Regions from separate parts of the Homo sapiens genome. Here all the other regions are linked to region 2. The links are contacts of gene promoters, found by promoter capture Hi-C in blood cells and fetal thymus (Javierre and others, 2016). All regions are on one chromosome and are shown on one strand. The core of a region is centred on a gene start or on the middle of the fragment in contact, and the rest is flanking DNA. Distances in the headings are between cores, read along the strand shown. Region 1 overlaps MARCHF4 (membrane associated ring-CH-type finger 4). Region 2 holds the start of MARCHF4 (membrane associated ring-CH-type finger 4). Region 3 overlaps MARCHF4 (membrane associated ring-CH-type finger 4).

Region 1 (2,714 bases), core at 58-2,557, 100 kb before region 2:
TACCATTGCCAACCACCCATCTTCCAGATTCCACTCCTCCAGTGCCCAGCCCTGTTAAGAACCTGGACCAAAGCACATATCAGGGAACGGTTGAAAGAAATGAATATAACCGGCTATTTTGGGTGAGTTCAGGGGGTACTGCTGGGAAAGGCCAGGTTGACAACATCACTGCCTGCCCAGTATTCTCCAGGGTGCAGCTTTATACTGGACACAGGTATGGCCAGGCTACACGTCACATGAGCTATTATAAAATTACAAAGCTTATTATAAAGTTACCATAAAGTTACAAAAGTAGTTTATTTAAGTAAACATGCCAACACCTTTCTATATCGAATCAGAGTTTTGTCTTTTAAAATCCCAAGGATTGCCCTTTGGAAATAGGGTATTTACTCCTATTGGGCTATCCCAGTTCAGAACATTTCTGGAAATTGCTCAGTGGGGTTGGCCTTCTGTGACAGAGATGGCTAACGGTCCACTAAAATCCACACTCCCTTTCCTTGGTATAAAGTTGCCACTGAGAAGTTACATTTTCTAGCTTTTTGCACCAAGGTGAGACCAGGTGACTAGTACTGAATGTGACCACAAGCCAGGCCAGCATTTAAGAAATGGGTCTAGGGAACACTCATTCCATTTGATTTTATAGAATGAGGTTTGCCCAATAAAAATAAAAACAAAGAAAAAAGAAATGGGTATTGAGAGAAAACTTGTGCAAGGCTGGGGCAGAAGACGACTTCTTCATGCTCTGTTTAATTTTCTATTAGCTGGAGGCAAAAGACTCAGCAGCCCAAGGGGCCTGTGGAGCCCAGAGATGGAAGGAGTTTGGGACTCCAAATTGCTGTGTGGAAGAGAATCTCCTACTGCTCAGGAACTTCTATTGGGTTAAACCACTGACACATAGGGGCTTATTTTTTTCTATCTGCTGAAGTTACCCTAACTAACATACCTATAGCTCTAGGTTAGGGACCACACAAGAAAAGAAGTTTGTGGCTTGATGGCGTGTTTCATATTGTCCCCAAAATGTATTAGCTGGCTTGAGCTTCCACCTTATTTATCAAATTGGGGCTATTTCTAGTCACAAACCCACTGCCAACAGACAGGCCACTCCTGAATCTGTTCTGTGCCAAAGACAGTTCCCAAGAAATATTCCTAAAATATGTTGAGCTTTGTCAGAACAACTGGGATAAATGAAATGCCTCTCGAGGGGTCTCTTTGGAAAAGGACAGTGCATCTGCTTCTAAATCAGTCATCTTCATCTCTAAGCAACCAGCCACTTGGCTGTGGAGATTGGTGGCCGTCACAGGAGGCCCCGGGTGGGTGGGAAGGAGTTAACACGGAATCTAGAAAACCAGATAAGCTACATGCAAGTAACAGAACGTGGATGGGCATCATCTCGCCAGTTTCTACAGCTGCTGCTTCTCATGTCAGTTTTGTGGCCCAGCCCAATATTGCTGGGGATGCCCCACGGTCACAAGTGTCAGCCTTTGCAAGCCCTGGCATCTCAGTGTGGAGGTGACATCAAAATCCTGGGATGTCAGACCTGGAAGGAACCTGGAGGTTGTCGGTTTCACCCCTCTCATTTATAGATGAGGAACTAACTGTAGAGAGAGGGAGTAACTTGTCCAAGGCCATAGAGGTGATTAGTAGCCGATATGGTTTGGCTGTGTGTTCCCACCCAAGTCTCATCTTGAATTGTAATCCCCGTGTATCAAGAAAGGGACCTATAATCCCTACATGTCAAGGGAGGGAGGTGATTGGATCATGGAGGCGGTTTCCCCCATGCTGTTCTTGTGATAGTGAGTGAATTCTCACAAGATCTGTGTTTGGAAGTTCCTCCTTCATTCTTCTCTCTCCTGCTGCCTTGTGAAGAAGGTGCCTCCTTCCACTTCTGCCATGATTGTAAGTTTCCTGGGGCCTCCCAAGCCATGTGGAACTGAGTCAATTAAATCTCTTTCCTTTATAAATTACCCAGTATCAGGGAAGTCCTTTATAGCAGTGTGAAAATGGACTAATATAGTAGCTATTCTGGTCTTCAGACCTAGATCTGCTTCCTAGTTTCTCGTACTGCACTAGGCTGCCTCCAACAAATGTTCCAAGTTTCCTAATCAGGAAATTAAAAGGTTTTACAGGTAGAGTCATTTCTAGCTAGGAGGAGAGGAAGGAATTTTTGTGGCATATGTATGTTTTGTAGTTAACGTGGGTTAAAATTAGGTTTGAAAGAAAAATGTTTGTACAATCCTGCTGCCCCCATCCTCTGCCTATTTGCTATAAAATGAGATTTAAATTCCTTCATCTCAGAGGACAGGGGCCAGGCATCTTTAAATCACTGAAAAGAACCTCAGGGGACCACACACAGAGGAAGCTTAAAAAAAAACAAAACTTTCTATAATTTTGCTGATTACCATATTCTACTGTTTTAAAGCTTTGGAAATAATCTCAGGAACATTCCTTTCCTTCCTTCCCCTGACCCCATATCAATCACAAGTTAAAAACAAACATGATGAAGAAGAGAGCCTCATTTTTGCAGAGTTGACTATTTGATGTCCAATCTCTTACATCTGTGGAGTTAAAAAAATGTTTTTTTGGTGCCAAAGCCCTTAATTAATTTGCTCTTGTTAAATCCTAATAACTTGACCCAGTGGAGCAGAGAATACCCCATTTGTTTGCTGGGAGGCTCTGTCAGCTTCTCTGCAGCAGAGGACAGCGTCATTAGAGAT
Region 2 (2,724 bases), core at 183-2,682:
GCCAATTAGGAGAAGGGAGGTAAAATAGAGGTTTGGGAAGGAAAAAGGATGGGAGAAAAAGAAAAGATCGTTTAACCCTTGCAGAGGCGCCTCCTTCCTGAGCATGAAGATCCTGGCTAGAGGAAGGGTGTGTGTACCGGGGTGAGAGGGCAGTGGAGCAGAGAATAGGGGTAGAGGAGAGGGGCGTGTGGGAGAGAACAGGAGAAAGGAGTGGTTACATTATCTCAGCCCCCAGCCCACCCCTGCTGCAGTCGGCAAATCCGTGGCGCCCTCCCCTCGGTTCCATCAAAGGTCCCTTCGGTCGAGGGGCAAGAGCCGAGAGAAGGGCAGGTCCGGGCGGGCGAGTGGCCTCGCCTTCTCCTCCTCTTCCTCCTCTGGGTCGCGGTCGCCCTCCTCCTCCGGCTCCGGGTCGGCCCGCGCCCGCAGCTGCTGCTGCGGCGGCGGAGGCGACTGCTGCTCGGCGTCCGGGTGTCTCCGGGGCGGGGGCTGCTCCGGCTCGTCCTCTGGCTGCTGCCCGCCGTCCGGCGCGGTCGCGACTCCGGCCTTCATGATCCTCCTCCTCCTCCCCCTTCCCTGGGGGCCAGCCCTGAGCCCCCGCGCCCGGGCAGCGCTGCCATGCAACCAGAGGCGAGGCCGGCGTGGGGGTGGGGGCGGCTGGGGAGTGAGGAGGGGGAGTAATAAAAAATGAAATAATACTAGTGGAATAATTCGGTTCTCAGGCAAGAGTGCTTCTGGAGGGTGGGGGCGGAGGAGGGCGGCTGCCGGGTCTGCTCGGCAGCTCTGCCCCCGCTACCCCCACCAAGGGCGGCCTCGGCCCGCTCTCTGCCCCCCCACCCCGCCCCTTCCTCCTCTCCACCGCCTCTGGCTGGCTAGGCTCGCTGTTGCTACCTCTCCTCGCAGATGCAACGAGGTAAGGCTTGTTTGCGGTGCCAGCTGAAGGTGGGGAGGGGGGAGCGAAGCAGTGTGGCCGAGGTGGGAGGCAGCCGGCACTTGGCTCCAGCTTGGTCCTCGCGACTCCCCAAAACCGTATATAAATATATCTCTTATAAAAGCCGAGAGGAAGCAAATCAGATTCCAGGCTGCTGCCAGGTGTTGTCTCGTCTTCCGCCGTTGCTCAGCACCCGCCGCTGCCCCCACTGGCTCGATTCCCAAAGGGGTGGTGCTGGAAGGGAGGTGGCGGGGCGGCGAGCTGACCGTCCGAGAACTGGAAACAAGGTTCTTGCAGCGAGGGAGGCTCTCGGCTATCTCCGCCGCCGGCGCCGCGGCCGCCGCTGCTGCATTCAGCACCCCGGGCGAGTGGACAGCTCCCACCCAGACCCCGCGCGTCACGCTCGTGGGGGCCTGACGCAGACGCCGCGGAGGGATGGAGGAGGGAAAGGGGATGAGAGGAAAAGAAGCTGGAGGGAGAGGGAGCAAGAGGAGGAGAGAACTGTGCGAGGGAAGGGGATGGGGAGGGACCAAGGGAAAGGGAGGTAACCAGGAGAGGGAGGGATTTAGGAAGGGAAGGAGGAGGGAGCGAAGTGAAGAGTAAAAGAAAGAAGGAGAAAGGCCACGGGGAGGGAGGGGAGCGATTCAGGCACTAACTCTTGCATTTCACCTCAGCAGGAACGTGTCGGTGTGGAAGGTCTGGTTGTAGACTCTCTGCCCACTGTCCACTATCACAGCTCCTCTCATTGCACATACAAGACACAGACACCTGTCAACCAGAGACCGTTTCTCTGTTCACATAAACATTTAAAGTAGATCTCAGTCTGCAAGCTTTCGAGGAGATAAAGTTTTGTGACTTCCACAATGAAGCTGGGACTTGATGGAGATTAAATTCCTCATGACTAAGGAAATGCTTGAGACATGAGACATGAGAAGGAAATGTTTCATTGAGGCTTGAGACATGAGAAGGAAATGCTTCAAATTTTCAAACAGGGAGGAGGTTGCTAGTACCATTTTTTTGTCAGCTTCTTCGCCTAGAATTTAAGCTCCAATTGACAGAGATAATTTTTTTAATTCATTTGATCCCGTGTGCCTAAGTCAGAGATGGCATCTAGTAAATGTTCAATGCATATTTGTTGAATGGCTTGTGGCCACCATCACCACAGTCATCATTACTATAAGTCACAGTGCTCTTTCAATTGTGAGTCATAAGAATCCAGAGCAATATTTCAGCTTCGTCTTCACCAACATCCCCAGCCTCCTCCCTATTCAAGCCTTTCACTGAGCCGCTGACAAGAGGTAATTTGAAATGGATTTTAATTTCCTCTCCTATTTCTGCTACTGACTCATGTCACCCTACCCTATTTTTCTCAAGGAGTTTCTTGAGCAGCAAAGTGCCCCTAAATGTGAAGAGCAAGAAAAAGAAGGAAACTTAAAGTGGTCTATATAAAACCTCAGTGTTTGCAGCTGTAGACTTTGGTCACTGAAAACTTAGGATTGCTTTTTTTGCCTTTCCTTATAAACCTCTCTCCCCCACCCCGCTCTCTCTCTCTCTCTCTCTCTCTCACACACACACACACACACACACACACACCCCTCTAGGGCCATAGAGAAGATATGCCAGTGATTCATCCAAACAGCCATGGTAATGCCTTTACAAATATTGGAGCCATAGACAGAGTAGCATGCAAAATTTCTGCAGCAAAATATCATTGGAACGAAGTTCAGTCCAATGAGTCATAAGAAAACTACCCCTTTGCTGCCATCTCTATGAAATGATTCATTCCTACAAGCTCT
Region 3 (2,853 bases), core at 42-2,541, 85 kb before region 2:
GGCCATGGTGGCATGCTCCTAAAACGCCAGCTACTCGGGAGGCTGAGGCAGGAGAATTACTTGAACCAAGGAGGCAGAGGCAGAGGTTGCAGTGCCAGCCTGGGCGACAGAGTGCAACTCCATCTAAAAAAAAAAAAAAGAAGAAGAAGAAAATAAAGCAAGGACAACAAACTGTTAGAAAAGTTTAACTTTGATAAAGGAAAAAGGAAGTGATGATTGGGTATTTGCTGTGGGGGTTGGGTGGAATCCAGAGAAACGAGCTATTTTAACTCTTGCATTCAGGCAAATTTTGTAGGTTATGATTTAGTGTATTTCTATATACATTTCGGGGAAAGCCCATCATCTTTTTAGTGTTTAGGGCTTCTAAAAAGCTTTCACAGGGACTCTTTGCCAACTACTGGTCAGACCTGTATGTCTCCAAGAACAACAGAAGTGGAAATGAGCCAGATGGATTCAAGCTAAACTTAGGAAGACGCTCTTTGCAGTAAGCTCTGTTAAAAGCTACATGGACACTGAGATGAATTCTCGCCCCCTCTACCCTAGTAAAATTCTCTCAATATAAGAGATATCTCTGATTGAGGAGAAAGGTTAAATGACTCACTCAAGGTCACACGGGCGTCAGACGCTGAGCTTCACCACCCGCTGTGCTCATCCACCTTCCATCCTCTGGATCCTGCTGCCCCACCTGCACCTGTGCCTGTAAGTCTCCCCTTCTCCAGGTCCCACCCCAATTCCTGGCCCAGCTCAGACCCTCAGCCAAGTCTCCCACCATCATCCACAGTTTGGTACTTCACCATTTTCAAATGCTCTGGGATTAGAGCTGCTCCTACATACCCCCTAGAACTGAGCACATCAGCGATGTACAATTAAGGCGTGCTTACTAATTGAACAGGCCCTAGGGTATGGGAAAGGAAAAGCCCCTCTGGTCCAGCTACTGCGGCTCCAGCATTTGGGCTGGGAGGATTACTGTGATCTTGTTTGCAGAGCTCAGCAAACTCCACAGATCAAAGGGACTCATTAAATGCAAAGGGCACCAGACACTTCCTCAATGATCTGCTCAGAGTGCTGGGGCCAGAGACTGCCCTGGGAATGACTAAAACAAGAAAAATGGGATCTTCTCTAATCATCTGGCCCCCAAGGGACACACTGTGGGGGAGTGGTGAAGAACATGGTTTCATTGTTCAATTCCCAATGAGAACACGTGGACACAGGAAGGGGAACATCACACACCCGGGACTGTTGTGGGGTGGGGGGAGGGGGGAGGGATAGCATTAGGAGATATACCTAATGCTAAACGACGAGTTAATGGGTGCAGTACACCAACATGGCACACGTATACATATGTAACAAACCTGCAGGTTGTGCACATGTACCCTAAAACTTAAAGTATAATAATAATAAAATTAAAAAAAAAAAAGAACATGGTTTTGGGAAACAGCCGCTTTGTTTTTGAGTGTCTGTTCACCAGCTGTGCAAATTTAGCCAAGTCTCTTAACCTCTCTGAGGCTCCATTTCTTCATCTTTCCGTTGCAAGTAACTCTTACCTCCTCAAGGGTAATTGTAAGGATTTTTTTTTTCCTTTGAGACACGATTTCACTCTGTTGCCCAGGCTGGGGTGCAGAGTAGCATGATCATGGCTCACTGCAGCCTTGAGCTCCCCAGGCTCAAGTGATCCTCCCACCTCAGCCTCTTGAGTAGCTGGGACTACAGGCACATGCCACCATGCCCAGCAACATGTATTGTACTTTTTGTAGAGGTGAGATTTCACCACGTAGCCCAGGCTGATCTCAAACTCCTAGGCTTAAATGATCCTCCGGCCTCAGCCTCCCAAAGTGTAGGGATTACAGGCGTGAGCCATTGTGCCTGGCCTGTAAGGGTTAAATGAGATCATATATGCAAGAGTTTGACACAGTGCATGGCACAAGTAAGTCCTCCTGTTAAACTATTACAATTCTAACTCACATTTCTGTAAGAACTTTAATTTCATAGTTTTTTCTTCTGCAACTCTATTTCCTACTGTCACTCTAAGACAGGTGAAATAGATAAGGAAGGGAACGACCGCCTAAAGAAAAGAGTCAGTTGAGTCACCAAGAGCAGTAAAGATTAAAGAATTTTCTAAGAGACTCTGCCCTCCTGGGATGGATAAGGGACCCTGACTTCTAGCCCAAGATTGTTCCTTATGTCACCTTGGGGACACTGGGAGCATCTGGGGAAGCTTCTTTTCAGGGGATGCCAAACAGAAGAAGAGTGCAGGCCTCTTGCATGGGTTAAGTGGGGTCGTGCTAGAGGCAGGAGGCAGGAGGCAGGAGGTGACCCTTTTAGCCTTGGTTGTGATGGAGGTGGTGGGAGGGAGAACAGATGTATTCCGCTCACTGCAGTGGGAGACAATAATATGCCTCCCCAAAATACGAAGGCGTGTTGAGCTAAGACAATTAAGAAGCAGCAGATTTAGGAGAGCTCTCTGCTCTTTCTCTATTTGCATAAAAGCAGGACATAGATTTACAAAGACAAAAGTTATCCTGCCTCTCCCTCTCCATCAGGAGAACAAAGGTAAACACTGAAGACAGCTTTAGACCCTCATCAGCCTCCAGATGACACCAGAGGAATTTATATATATCTATATATGAAAATATATAAAAATTTATATATATATAAACATATATATATATATATTTATTTTTATTTATTTATTTTTTTTGGAGACAGAGTCTCGCTCTGTCACCCAGGCTGGAGTGCAGTGGCACGATCTCAGCTCACTGCAAGGCTTACTGCAATAGAGGAATTTATATTAACGAGCTTTACTCACTGAAGTTCTTTTGCCCTTTGTTTTCTTCCCCACCCGCCCCCCACCCA

The links. The method cuts DNA at HindIII sites, captures the fragments that hold promoters and counts their contacts. A CHiCAGO score of 5 or more calls a contact.
Region 1: a fragment that was not itself captured here is called in contact with the fragment with the promoter of MARCHF4 in region 2 in 2 of 17 cell types (endothelial precursors and total CD8 T cells); the score reaches 7.4 in endothelial precursors.
Region 3: a fragment that was not itself captured here is called in contact with the fragment with the promoter of MARCHF4 in region 2 in 1 of 17 cell types (endothelial precursors); the score reaches 5.9 in endothelial precursors.

What each region holds. Positions count from the first base shown.
Region 1 is chr2:216,266,671-216,269,384 of GRCh38, forward strand. The region is part of intron 3 of MARCHF4 (membrane associated ring-CH-type finger 4); the gene reads right to left. Among named protein-coding and RNA genes, the nearest start is that of MARCHF4-AS1, 35 kb to the right of the region's middle. The HindIII fragment of the contact is 2,099 bases long and covers 259-2,357 here.
Region 2 is chr2:216,371,051-216,373,774 of GRCh38, forward strand. It overlaps MARCHF4 (membrane associated ring-CH-type finger 4), which reads right to left and starts at 1,433. Exons shown (of 4, transcript NM_020814.3): 1 at 1-1,433. The HindIII fragment of the contact is 3,541 bases long and covers 1-1,756 here.
Region 3 is chr2:216,286,396-216,289,248 of GRCh38, forward strand. All of the region lies in intron 1 of MARCHF4 (membrane associated ring-CH-type finger 4), which reads right to left. Among named protein-coding and RNA genes, the nearest start is that of MARCHF4-AS1, 15 kb to the right of the region's middle. The HindIII fragment of the contact is 1,844 bases long and covers 370-2,213 here.